3 separate regions of the Homo sapiens genome follow, and regions 1 and 3 are each linked to region 2. The links are contacts of gene promoters, found by promoter capture Hi-C in blood cells and fetal thymus (Javierre and others, 2016). All regions are on one chromosome and are shown on one strand. The core of a region is centred on a gene start or on the middle of the fragment in contact, and the rest is flanking DNA. Distances in the headings are between cores, read along the strand shown.

What was found. Contacts are between HindIII fragments. The CHiCAGO score rates a contact against its expected background, and 5 or more counts as called.
Region 1: a fragment that was not itself captured here is called in contact with the fragment with the promoter of STH in region 2 in 17 of 17 cell types (neutrophils, M2 macrophages, naive CD8 T cells and 14 more); the score reaches 16.1 in neutrophils.
Region 3: a fragment that was not itself captured here is called in contact with the fragment with the promoter of STH in region 2 in 2 of 17 cell types (naive CD8 T cells and total CD4 T cells); the score reaches 5.4 in naive CD8 T cells.

Annotation. Positions count from the first base shown.
Region 1 is chr17:46,205,249-46,209,223 of GRCh38, reverse strand. It overlaps a transcript of KANSL1 not described here. Among named protein-coding and RNA genes, the nearest start is that of KANSL1-AS1, 14 kb to the right of the region's middle. The HindIII fragment of the contact is 7,277 bases long and covers 1-3,975 here.
Region 2 is chr17:45,996,534-46,000,499 of GRCh38, reverse strand. It overlaps STH (saitohin), which reads right to left and starts at 1,250. Exons shown (of 1, transcript NM_001007532.3): 1 at 806-1,250. The coding sequence starts at 1,220. The coding sequence ends at 834. It overlaps MAPT (microtubule associated protein tau), which reads right to left. Exons shown (of 13, transcript NM_001377265.1): 9 at 3,836-3,966. The HindIII fragment of the contact is 3,833 bases long and covers 1-2,225 here.
Region 3 is chr17:46,177,652-46,181,230 of GRCh38, reverse strand. The region is part of intron 1 of KANSL1 (KAT8 regulatory NSL complex subunit 1); the gene reads left to right. Among named protein-coding and RNA genes, the nearest start is that of KANSL1, 14 kb to the left of the region's middle. The HindIII fragment of the contact is 2,545 bases long and covers 126-2,670 here.

The DNA.
Region 1 (3,975 bases), core at 641-3,140, 210 kb before region 2:
AACTGTCTCTTAGGTGACTTTGCATTTTCTTTTTTTTTTGAGATGGAGTTTTGCTCTTGTCACTCAGGCTGGAGTGCAATCGGCGCAATCTTGGCTCACTGCAACCTCCGACTCCCGGGTTCAAGCAATTCTCCTGCCTCAGCCTCCCAAGCAGCTGAGACTGCAGGCATGCGCCATCACGCCTGGCTAATTTCTGTAGTTTTTGGTTTTTTTTTAGTTGAGATAGGATTTCACCATGTTGGCCAGGCTGGTCTCGAACTCCTGACCTCAAATGATCCGCCCCACTCGGCCTCCCAAAGTGCTGGGATTACAGGCGTGAGCCACTGCGCCCGGGCTGCATCATTTTGTTGTAAGGTTTTTTTTTTTTTTTTGAGACGGAGTCTTGCTGTGTCGCCCAGGCTGGAGTGCAGTTGCAGGATCTCGGCTTCCTGCAACCTCCGCCTCCAGGTTCCTGCACCCTCTGTCTCCGGTGGGCTGAGCTGAGGTGGGACAGACTGACGCGGAGAGGAAGGGAAGCCACCTGGCCTGAAGATCCTGTCTCTAAGATCAGGTTCTGAGGTGCTGAATGTTAGGAGTACTACATATCTTTTTTTTTTTTTTTTTTTTTGAGACAGGGTCTCCCTCTGTCATCCAGGCTAGAGTGCAGTGGCACTTGGATCACTGCAACCTCCAGCCCCCTAAACCCCAGGCTCAAGCAATCCTCCCATCTCAGCTTCCCGGGTAGCTGGGACTACAGGTGTGCACTGCCACACCTGGCTATTTTTTTATATTTTTAGTAGAGCCGGGGTCTTGCCATGTTGCCCAGGCTGATATTGAATTCCTGAGCTCAAGCGATGCTGTGGCCTTGACCTTCCAAAGTGCTGGGATTACAGGCATGTGCCACTGTGCCCAGCCCCTTGGAGTACTATATATCTCTTTTGGGGAACAAAAGTCAGCCCAGAACAGGTGTATGTCATTTATCATGGGTACAAGACCCTCAACACCTACACATAGGAAATGAAAATTTTGGTGCAAATTGATAGCATGACTTGAAGAAGTAGATTATTTCTTTAGCATCTCGTGTATTTATCTTTAACAAGATTTTTGTTTTATCTTTGAAACTTTTTTTTTTTTTGAGACGGATTTTTGCCTTTCACCCAGGTTGGAGTGCAGTGGTGTGATCTTGGCTCACTGTAACCTCCGCCTCCTAGGTTCAAGTGATTCTCCTGCCTCAGCTTCCCCAGTAGCTGGTATTACAGGCGCCTACCATCACACCTGGCTAATTTTTGTCTTTTTAGTAGAGACGGGGTTTCACCATGTTGGCCAGGCTGGTCTCAAACTCTTGACATCAGGTGATCCACCCGCCTCAGCCTCCCAAAGTGCTGGGATTAAAGGCATGAGCCACTGTACCTGGCCTTTTTGTATTTTTTGTAGAGATGGGGTTTTACCATGTTGCCCAGGCTGGTCTCAAACTCCTGAGCTCAAGCAGTCCCCGCACCTTGGCCTCCCAAAGTGTTGGGATTACAGGCCTGATCCCCTGTGCTCAACCTGATGAGATCTTTTCATGTGCTTATTGGCCATTCATATATCTTCTTTGGAGAAATGTCTATTTAAATTCTCTGCACATTTTAATTTTATTTTTATACACTATTGTTTTTTAGGCTAGGTCTTGCTCTGTCACTCTGGCTAGAGTGCAGTGGCCAATCGCAGTTTTCTTTTCTTTTTTTTTTTTTTTGGAGATGGAGTCTTGCTCTGTCACCCAGGCTGGAGTTCAGTGGCACTATCTTGGCTCACTGCAATCTCTGCCTCCTGGGTTCAAGTGATTCTCTGCCTCAGCCTCCCAAGTAGCTGGGATTAGAGGCACCCACCACCACGCCCAGCTAATTTTTGTATTTTTAGTAGAGATGGGGTTTCACCATCTTGGCCAGGTTGGTCTTGAACTCCTGACCTCATGATCCACCCGCCTTGGACTCCCAAAGTGCTAGGATTACAGGCGTGAGCCACCGCACCCGGCCCAATCATAGTTTCTGGAACTTCAAACTCCTGGACTCAAGGGTTCCTTCTGCCTCAAGCTCCTGAGTAGCTAGGACTACAGGTGTGTGCCACCATGCCTGGCTAATTGTTTTTTTTTATTATTATTAATTTATTTTGTAGAGACAGGGTCTTGCTATATTGCTCTGGCAGGTCTCAGAATCCTTGCCTCAAGGGATCCTCTCCTTCTGGTGTGAGCCACCATGCTCAGCCTTTGCCCATTTTAAAATTGGATTCTCTTTTTATTGTTGAGTTGTAAGAGTTCTTTAAATATACTAGATACAAATCCCTTGTGAGATACATGATTTGCAAATATTTTCTCCCATCTATGGGTTGTGTTTTCAATTTCTTGATGGTGTCCTTTAATGTACAAAATGTTATAATTCTGATGAAGCCAAATTTACTTGTTTTTTCCTTTGTTGCATGTGGTTTTGATGTCAGGCCACCAAATGAAATGAAGATTAGCTTTGTTTTCTTCTAGGAATTTTATTGTTTTAGCTGTTACATTTAGGTCTATAATCCGTGTTTAAATTTAATTAGAATTAATTTTTGTGTATGGTGTGAGATATAGTGGTCCAGCTTCATTCTACTGCATGTGAATATTCAGTTGTCCCAGCATGGTTTGTTGAAAAGACCATTGTTTGTTTCTTGTAGAGATGGGGGTCTTGCTTTGTTGCCCTGGCTAGTCTCAAACTCCTGGCCTCAAGCAATCCTCCTGTCTCAGCCTCCCCAAATGCTGGGATTATAGGTGTCAGCTACAGCACTTGGCTTAAAAAGACCATTCTTTCCTCCACTGAATTGTCTTGGCATTTTTGTCATAAAATCAATTGACTGTCAGTGTAAAGGTTTATTTCTGAACCCACACTTATATTCCATTGATCTGTATGTTTATCCTTATGCCACTACCACACTGTCTTGATTTCCATAGCTTTGAATTATGTTTTCAAATCAGGAAGTGTGAGTCCCCCAACTTTGTTTTTCCTATTCAAATTTCTTTTGGGTATGCTGGGATCACATTGATTCTGTAGATCAATTTAGGGAATATTGCCATTTTAACAGAGTTGTATCTTCTGATCCATTCTCATCCATGAACATGGGATATCTTTCCTTTTTTTTTTTTTTTTTTTTTTGGGGGACACAGTCTTGTTCTGTCATCCAGGCTGCAGTGAAGTACAGTAATGCAATCATGGCTCACTGCAGCTGTAACCTACTAGGCTCAAGTGATCTTCCCTCCTCAGCCCCCCAAGCAGCTAGGATTACAGGTGCATGCCACCACATCTAGCTCATTTTTGTATTTTTGTAGAGATGAGTTCTTGCCATGTTGCCTAGTCTGATCCTGAACTTCTGCGCTCAAGCAGCCCACCCACTTCAGTCTACCAAAGTGCTGGGATTACAGGTGTGAGCCATCACACCTGGCCTTTCCATTTAGTTAGGATTTCTGTAACTTCTTTTGTAATTTTTATATATCTCAGAGTATAAGATTGTCACTGCTTTTGTTAAATTTATTTCTAAGTCTTTTTTTTTTTTTTTTTTGAGACAGTGTCTCATTCTGTCACCTAGGCTAAAGTACAGTGGTGTGATCTCGGCTCATTGCAACCTCCGCCTCCTGGGTTCAAGTGATTCCACTGCCTCAGCCTCCTGAGTAGCTGGGATTACAGGCACCTGCCACCACACCCAACTAATTTTTATATTTTAGTAGAGACGGGGTTTCACCACGTTGGCTAGGCTAGTCTTGAACTCCTGACCTCAAGTGATCCGCCTGCCTCGGCCTCCCAAAGTGCTGGGATTACAGGTGTGAGCCATCGTGCTTGGCTTTCTAAGTCTTTTTTTTTTGGCGGGGGGATGCTATTGTAAGTGGAATTTTTAAAAACTTTTCATGTTCAGATTGCTTATTGCTTGTGTATAGAAATACGATTACTACTTGTATATTGAGCTTGTATCCTGTAACTGTGTTGGATGTGTTTA
Region 2 (3,966 bases), core at 1-2,500:
GATCGGCGGGGCCTACGGGCTCTTCCTGCCTGGCACCCCACCCAGCTCCTCCTCCTTGCCTGCAATCTCTACCCCTACCCAGCTGGTGCTCCAGTGCGGCCACCTGATTATCTGCATTTTCCTTTCAAAATAATTCCATTTGGGGCCCCAAAGCAATCTATGTTCACTGTAGCAAATCCTGAAAACAGAGAAAAGCACAAAGAAGAAAACAGAGAAAAGCACAAAGGGGAAAACAGACGTTTTCCGTTTTTCCCCCAATGATTTGCAGCAATCTGCGGCAGTTTTCAGCCTCTGCAGGTTCCCAAACGTGACTTGGCTCCTGCTCTTTTCCCTTTGGTGTTAGCATCTGTTCCGGCACGGTTGAGGGATTCTTCAGACTCCGCCAGCTTTGCCTCTTTTGTAGCCAAACATTTATTGAGCACTTACTGCATACTGGGTACTACATGAGGCCACAGGGACCCAAAGGTCTCAGCAAAAGCTCGTGGAGCCTTCAGGCCAGTCCAGGAGGAGGAGGCCTGACACCCTTCAGCGGGTCATTTTAAAGGCTCTTGTGCATGGACCCTGTATGACATTTTTCTTTTTCTTTTTTCCTGGAGATTCATGTGTTGGTCTTTGTTATGGCTGAGGTTTAGTTTCAGACAATTTTTCTAGGCTTTCCTGGCATTTAAGGGAGGCTGTGACTGTGTCCTCTGCCACTTTTCCACACTTCGTCCCCCAAAATATCTCAAGAAAAGTCAAGTCACCCTTTCTCCTTTAACCCTTTAGTAGATTTGGACGTGCTGCCTCCACCCAGCATGGTGACGTCATAACCTGGGGCTCCCATCTGCCCCTTTCTACACTTGGCATGAGGTCGCCTGACTCTCACCCCTCATGGGCAGAGGCAGGGCAGCTGCAGGGTGGGAGGGACAGTTCTGGCCCTGAAAGGGGCCTTCAATGGAAAGTTGTCTTCCCTGCTCAGCCCCATTCCTGCTGCTCTCTTCAGAGCTGTAAGAACTGGGCCAAATGGTGCCCACACCTTCCAAGCCAACCTCAGATGAACTCAGGGTCAACAGGGAAGCTACTTCCCATGCTAAGCTGAGGGTTCTGTCTCTGGCAACCTGAATCATCCACTCACACAGAGGCTGAGTTAAATTAACCCCGCATTCAATGAGGGCCGGCCACCTGCACAGTCTTGTGGGGGCTGCAAAAATGCATGAGACTTGGCCTCCACCCTCACTCATGGCCCAGACTAGGGAGCAGCAGACACATGCTCAGTGTGGTCAGAGTTTACAGGGGCTTTAAGAAGAGAGAGGGGAATCCAGGAAGACTTCCTGGAGGAGATGGCAACTGAACTTGGATTTAAGGGAAGGGAAGAGATAAGGAGAGAAGGACATTCCCCACCATGGGACACAGGGCAGGGTATGGCAGAACCCAGGGGCCCCCAGAGGTGCATGGGCGGGGAACCCCAGACGGGGAGCAGCAGATTCAGGCTAGGGGGAAGGGAGCACCTTGTGGGTGCTGCTTGTTATGTGACTTGAGGAGATCCTGGATGGCAGTCTGGGTGCTGGAGCAGGATGGGGGTGCATGGGTGGGCAATGGGAGAAAAGGCAGGAAAGGCCAGTGAGGGCCCCTCTGGGGTCTTGGGCAGCACCAAGGCCAGGCACCCTGGAGAATGAAAGTCACGGTGGTCCCAAGATGGGGCTTCTGGAGGCGACTTTCGAGAACCGAATGAGGACTGGAAAGTCTGGAGACGAGGGAGCGCATTGTCCCCAGTGGAAGCGCAGGACAGTTTCCCTCAGCTGCGGTACAGGACAGAGGCCCTGGGTCACCTGTGAGTTATTTCCCCAAGGTCTCTAACCAGGCCACTGTGGTGGATGAGGGTCCAGAGAGCCTCTTCCACTACAAGCTCCACATGCCTGAGCAGGAAAAGGCCGGACCTTAATTTAACCCGGATCGTTTGCCATCAGGAGGGAGATTCTGAGATGTTCTCTTCCTTCCCTCCCTCCTGTGTTCCAGGGAGCTCTGCCCTTGTCCCCACAGCCACAGGGGAGCCACTGTCTGTCCTTTCCTCGATGAGAGGAGGTGCTCTGGGGCACAGCCGAGTCTTCTCCACCTCTGTGCACCGCCTGGCACGCAGGGACTCTCAAAAGAGGCCTGATGCACAGAGGCAGGGTCTACACATGCGTCCCTTTTAACCCGACCGTCCATTTCCATCCCGATGGGATGTGACACTGCACTCACAAGCTTGTTCGGGGGCAGGGGGGATCCTGGGTGGGGGGAGGTGGCAGGGTTTGAGGCAAGGTGCCCATGTGCACTGGTGGCCACCCTCCGTCCAAATGCCCCAGGCTCAGACCCAAGTGATAAGAACTTCAATGGTGTGGAGAGCGCCTGCGTGGGGGAGGCAAGCTGACACGCAGGCCCAGGGTTCCAGAAAGCCCCCTAGCTCCCCGAGGCCCAGTGCCCAGAAGGCCCAGCACATCTGCAGCCTCAGAGTGAGCTGTGGTCCTTCTCACCCCCAGCCTCCTCTTCACCCTTCCCCAGCTCCCCAGTGCTGGGTGGCGGGAGCGGGGTCCTGGGCTGAATTGTGGTCCCCGCAAATTCACATGTTGAAGCCCTAACCCCCCTCCCCAACACCCCCGTACCTTAGAATGTGACTCTATTTGGAGACAGGGCCTTTAGAGAGGTGACTAAGTGAAAAATGAGGTCATCAGGCTGGGCCCTAAGCCATGGTGGGTTTTTTTGGTTTGTTTTATTTTGTTTTGAGACAGAGTCTCGCTCTGTTGCTCAAACTGGAGTGCAGTGGCACTATCTCGGCTCACTGCAACCTCTGCCTCCTGGGTTCAAGCGATTCTCCTGCCTCAGCCTCCTGAGTAGCTGGGATTATAGGCGCGCACCACCACCACGCCCAGGTATTTTTGTATTTTTAGTAGAGACGAGGTTTCACCCTGTTGGTCAGGTTGGTCTCGAACTCCTGACCTCGTGATCTGCCTGCCTCAGCCTCCCAAAGTGCTGGGATTATAGGCGTGAGCCACTACGCCCAGCTGCCATGGTGTTCTTATAAGAAGATGAGCATGCGCAGAGCTACCAGGAGCACACACAGAGGGAAGACTGCAGCGGTGCAGGACAGAGGTGGCTACCCACGGCCACAGAGAGGCCTTGGAAGAAACCCACCCGCCCACACCTGGCTAGTGAGGAGGCATACTGCTGTTCTTTCACTGTGGTGCTTTGTATGTCAGCCCTAACGCACCCAGACGAGGGGCACAGGGACAGGAATGGGGAAAGGGATCCAGGCCAGGCCCCCGAAGTCTGTGCTTCTCCACCTTTAGGAAGCTGGAGAGCTCGCGAGCACCCACTTGCTCCCAGAAGAATCAGCTGATCAAAACAGAACCCCCAATCTCCCCAGAATCCAGAGGAACCCAACCTAAGCAGATGGCCCACGAGTGGAGATGCTGACCTATGGGTGGCAGTGTATTCTGCCCAGAAGGCAGGTGGGGAACCGCTGTGGGTGCCCTGACTATGAGAGCCTCCGGCCGTGGAGACACAGCCCTGCCATCTCTGTCCGATTAACAGGGGCTGAAGGGGCAAGAGAAGAGCCAGAACGTTCTCTCGCCTGAGGAGGGCACTCACAGTGTAGTGGAGAGCCCAATAAAGAACTGAACTTCCTTGAAGAGGGTCCAGAGGGGACTGGGGTGTTATGCGGGGGTGCTCAGGTGCGGGGAGCCCCACACCTCCATGCACAGTCCCACGACTCCACGCTCAACCGCGCACCTCCAGGCGCAGCCCTACCCTTCCAGGCACAGCCCTACCCCTCCAGGCGCAGCCCCCCACACCTCCACGCGCAGCCAGCCACTCTCACCTTCCCGCCTCCCGGCTGGTGCTTCAGGTTCTCAGTGGAGCCGATCTTGGACTTGACATTCTTCAGGTCTGGCATGGGCACGGGGGCTGTCTGCAGGCGGCTCTTGGCGGAAGACGGCGACTTGGGTGGAG
Region 3 (3,579 bases), core at 149-2,648, 180 kb before region 2:
AAGGAGATGAAATTATGAAGGAAAAGAGAGCTTTCTTTCCATTCTTTATAAGCCATCATGTTTTTGTTTGTCATATATTTGGCCTTTTTGTTAGACTGGCCCCTTCACATTTCTGGATTTAAGCTTTGGTAGAGACTTTGACTATTATTTTCTGGTTGAAGTTCTCATTGCATCCTATCTGGATTATTGTGGTAGCTTTTTTATTGGTCTTTGCCATCTATAGATGCCTTTTTACTTACTTTCAATCCATCCTACCCAACTGATCTCTCTAAAGCACAGTCTGATGTTTCACTCCCATTTAAAAAGTGTTTAATGATACTCTGCTGTCATTATTTTATATATACATATACATATATATGTGTGTGTATATATATATGTATATACTTTTTATTTTTCAGAGACTCGATCTCGCTATGTTGACCAGGCTGGTCTCAAACTCCTGGCCTCAAGCAATCCTTTTGCCTTGGCCTCCCAGAGTGCTGGGATTACATGTCTGAGCCGCTGCACCTGGCCTCTGCTGTCTTTGTTTGTTTGTTTTTGTTTTTGAGACAGAGCCTCTCTTTGTCGCCCTGGCTGAAATGCAGTGGCTCAATCTTAGCTCATTGCAGCCTCTGCCTCCTGGGTTCAAGTGATTCTCATGCCTCAGCCTCCCTAGTAGCTGGGACTACAGGCACCTGCCATCATGCCCGGCTAAATTTTTTATTTTTATTTTTATTATTTATTTCTTTTTTTGAGATGGAGTCTCACTTTTGTCACCCAGGCTGGAGTGCAATGGTGCGATCTCGGCTCACTGCAACCTCTGCCGCTCAGGTTTCAGCGATTCTCCTACCACAGCTTCCCGAGCAGCTGGGATTACAGGTGCCCGCCACCACACCCAGCTGATTTTTTTGTATTTTTATTAGAGGCGGGTTTTCACCACGTTGGCCAGGCTGGTTTCAAACTCCTGACCTCAGGTGATCCACCCGCCTCAGCCTCCCAAAGTGCGGGGATTGCAGGCGTGAGCCACTGTGCCTGGCCCCTCTACTGTCTTTAAGTCTGAATTAAGGCTATTAAAGGCTGTCCGTTAAGGATCTGGCTTCAAACTGCCTTTCCACCTTCATTCTACTATTTCCTCTATTAAAATATGCTTTGTGTTTTAAGCAAATTGTTAATTTTTTTTTTTTTTTAAGATGGAGTCTCGCTCTTGTTACCCAAGCTGGAGTGCAGTGGCCCGATCTCAGCTCACTGCAACCTCTGCCTCCTGGGTTCAAGCAATTATCCTGTCTCAGTCTTCCAAGTAGCTGGGAGTACAGGTGCGCGCCTCCACACCCGGCTAATTTTTGGTAATTTTAGTAGAGATGGGGTTTCGCCATGTTGGCCAGGCTGGTCTCCTGATCTCAGGTGATCTACCCGCCTCAGCCTCCCAAAGTCCTGGGATTATAGGCATGAGTCACTGCGCCCGGCCCAAATTGTTCATTTCTTTTAACCTTCAGAATGTCGCCTTTTCCCACACAGCGTTGCCTTTTCTTATGCCATTTCCTCTCACTAGAATGCCACATTACCATTCTCTTGTCCTAGCCTTTTGCATAATGACATTTTAGCTAATTTTCAAGTCTCAGCTAAAATTGCGGCAACTTCATGGACACTTCCCTAATCATCCTTCCTGCTGTTTCTTTCCGTCCTTTGTGTAGAGAAATGAGGTAATGGTGAAGGAAGAGGTTAGTAGAAGCCACATTATGGGCAAACTTTTCTTCCCCATCTGATTTTTGCTTTTGCTTTCAGTGCAAGTGTGGTTGTAATACTTGTTGGCCACCTGGATGACCTATTCCTTCCCCTTTGTTCTCTGCAGCTAAATATTTTTGCAAGGTGGATGCTTCCAGGTTATTCTTGTGTATCTGGAGTCTTGTCTTGGAAATTGACTGGGAATAAATGAGGTTTTCATTTGTGGGTGTGGAGTTAGTTCTGACTTACAGTATTTGAAGCAGCTGGATACGTTTTGCTTTTGAAAGAGTATATATATGTGTGTGTATAATCTTTAGGATATGGTTCTCTGTTGGGAGGTGTGATGTTGAACCCCCCAGCTCCCATATTTGACATGTCTGGAGACATTTTTGATTGTCATAATTTTCAGAAGGGCACTACTAGCATCTAGTGGGTGGAAAACAGAGATGTTGCTAAACATGCTACTGCCAGGATAGCCCCCTGTGATAGATTACTCATCGTGAGATGTCAGTTAGTGGTTAGGTTGAGAAACTCTATCCTAGAAGTATATTTTTGCTTCCCAAGTGCCACTTGTGTTAGGTAGAAGTTTGTCCTTGGACCGATGGTGCAATTTAGAATAATAGAATTAACATAGGAAGGGACCCTAGAGGTCACATATTTGAACTTTATCCCAACTTGTATTTCTCACAATGATGTTTCTGCTTGATATTAATAGATGTAATGGAAAAAGGTGCTTGTTAAAAAAGTTTGGTAAAGGTAAACATTTGCATATTCAGTATGATGCAATACGTTGTGAGTCTCCATCTGGGAAGTTTTTCCGAAATGTATTTGCTTGCTGAGTGCATTTAACATCTTCCAGACCCTAAAATACTTCTTTGAAACTGAGAGAGAAACTATTGATTATCTAGCCCAACCTTTTATAGCTAAATGACCTTGAATAGGTAGCCTTTTCTTTTATCTGTACAAGCTTACTGCAGAATCTCAATTTGTGTGAGTGACAGCAGGTGTAGCAGCTCCATCTGTATTTGTCAGATTATAGTTTACTAACTGAATGAACTAAAAATTGGGATATTTGGGGCTTGAATTTTTATTCTGAATGTACAGTCTGACTTTATCCCCACCGGTAAATTAGAAATTATAATCTCAGCCCTAATTCTACTGCCCAGGTTGTTATGAGGATTAATCAGTTAATTATAGCTTTTAAGGCTTTGTATTCTTTGGAGAAAGATGATTTATCAGATAGGCTGTTGTGCTGTTTGTGTAGAACTGCTTCCTTTTTTTGTTTTTCGTTTTTTTTTCCTTTAGCCCTGAGCTTCTCTAAGAACTGCTTAAATTTGACAGTCTTTCCCTGCTTTACATTGTCAAAGATTGAAGCTTTTTGAATTTTGTAGGGGTCAAGTGGGATAGGAATCATTGTTTTGCTCTGTATATTAAATTTAAGAATGTTACTATGGGCCGGGCGTGGTGGCTCATGCCTGTAATCCCAGCACTTTGGGAGGCCAAGGTGGGCAGATCACGAGGTCAGGAGATGGAGACCATCCTGGCTAACATGGTGAAACCCTGTCTCTACTAAAAATACAAAAAACTAGCTGGGCGTGGTGGCGGACGCCTGTAGTTCCAGCTACTGGGGAGGCTGAGGCAGGAGAATGGCGTGAACCCGGGAGGTGGAGCTTGCAGTGAGCTTAGATCACGCCACTGCTCTCCAGCCTGGGTGACAGAGCGAGACTCCATCTCTTAAAAAAAAAAAAAGAATGTTACTGTGATTTTGTTTTACTTAGTTATTGGCTCTTTAAGAATTTCCATTGTTTTCTTTTTGTTTCTCTCCATTTTATTATAGAAGTAATACATGTTTATGGTGGAGACTTTACATAAGCCAAG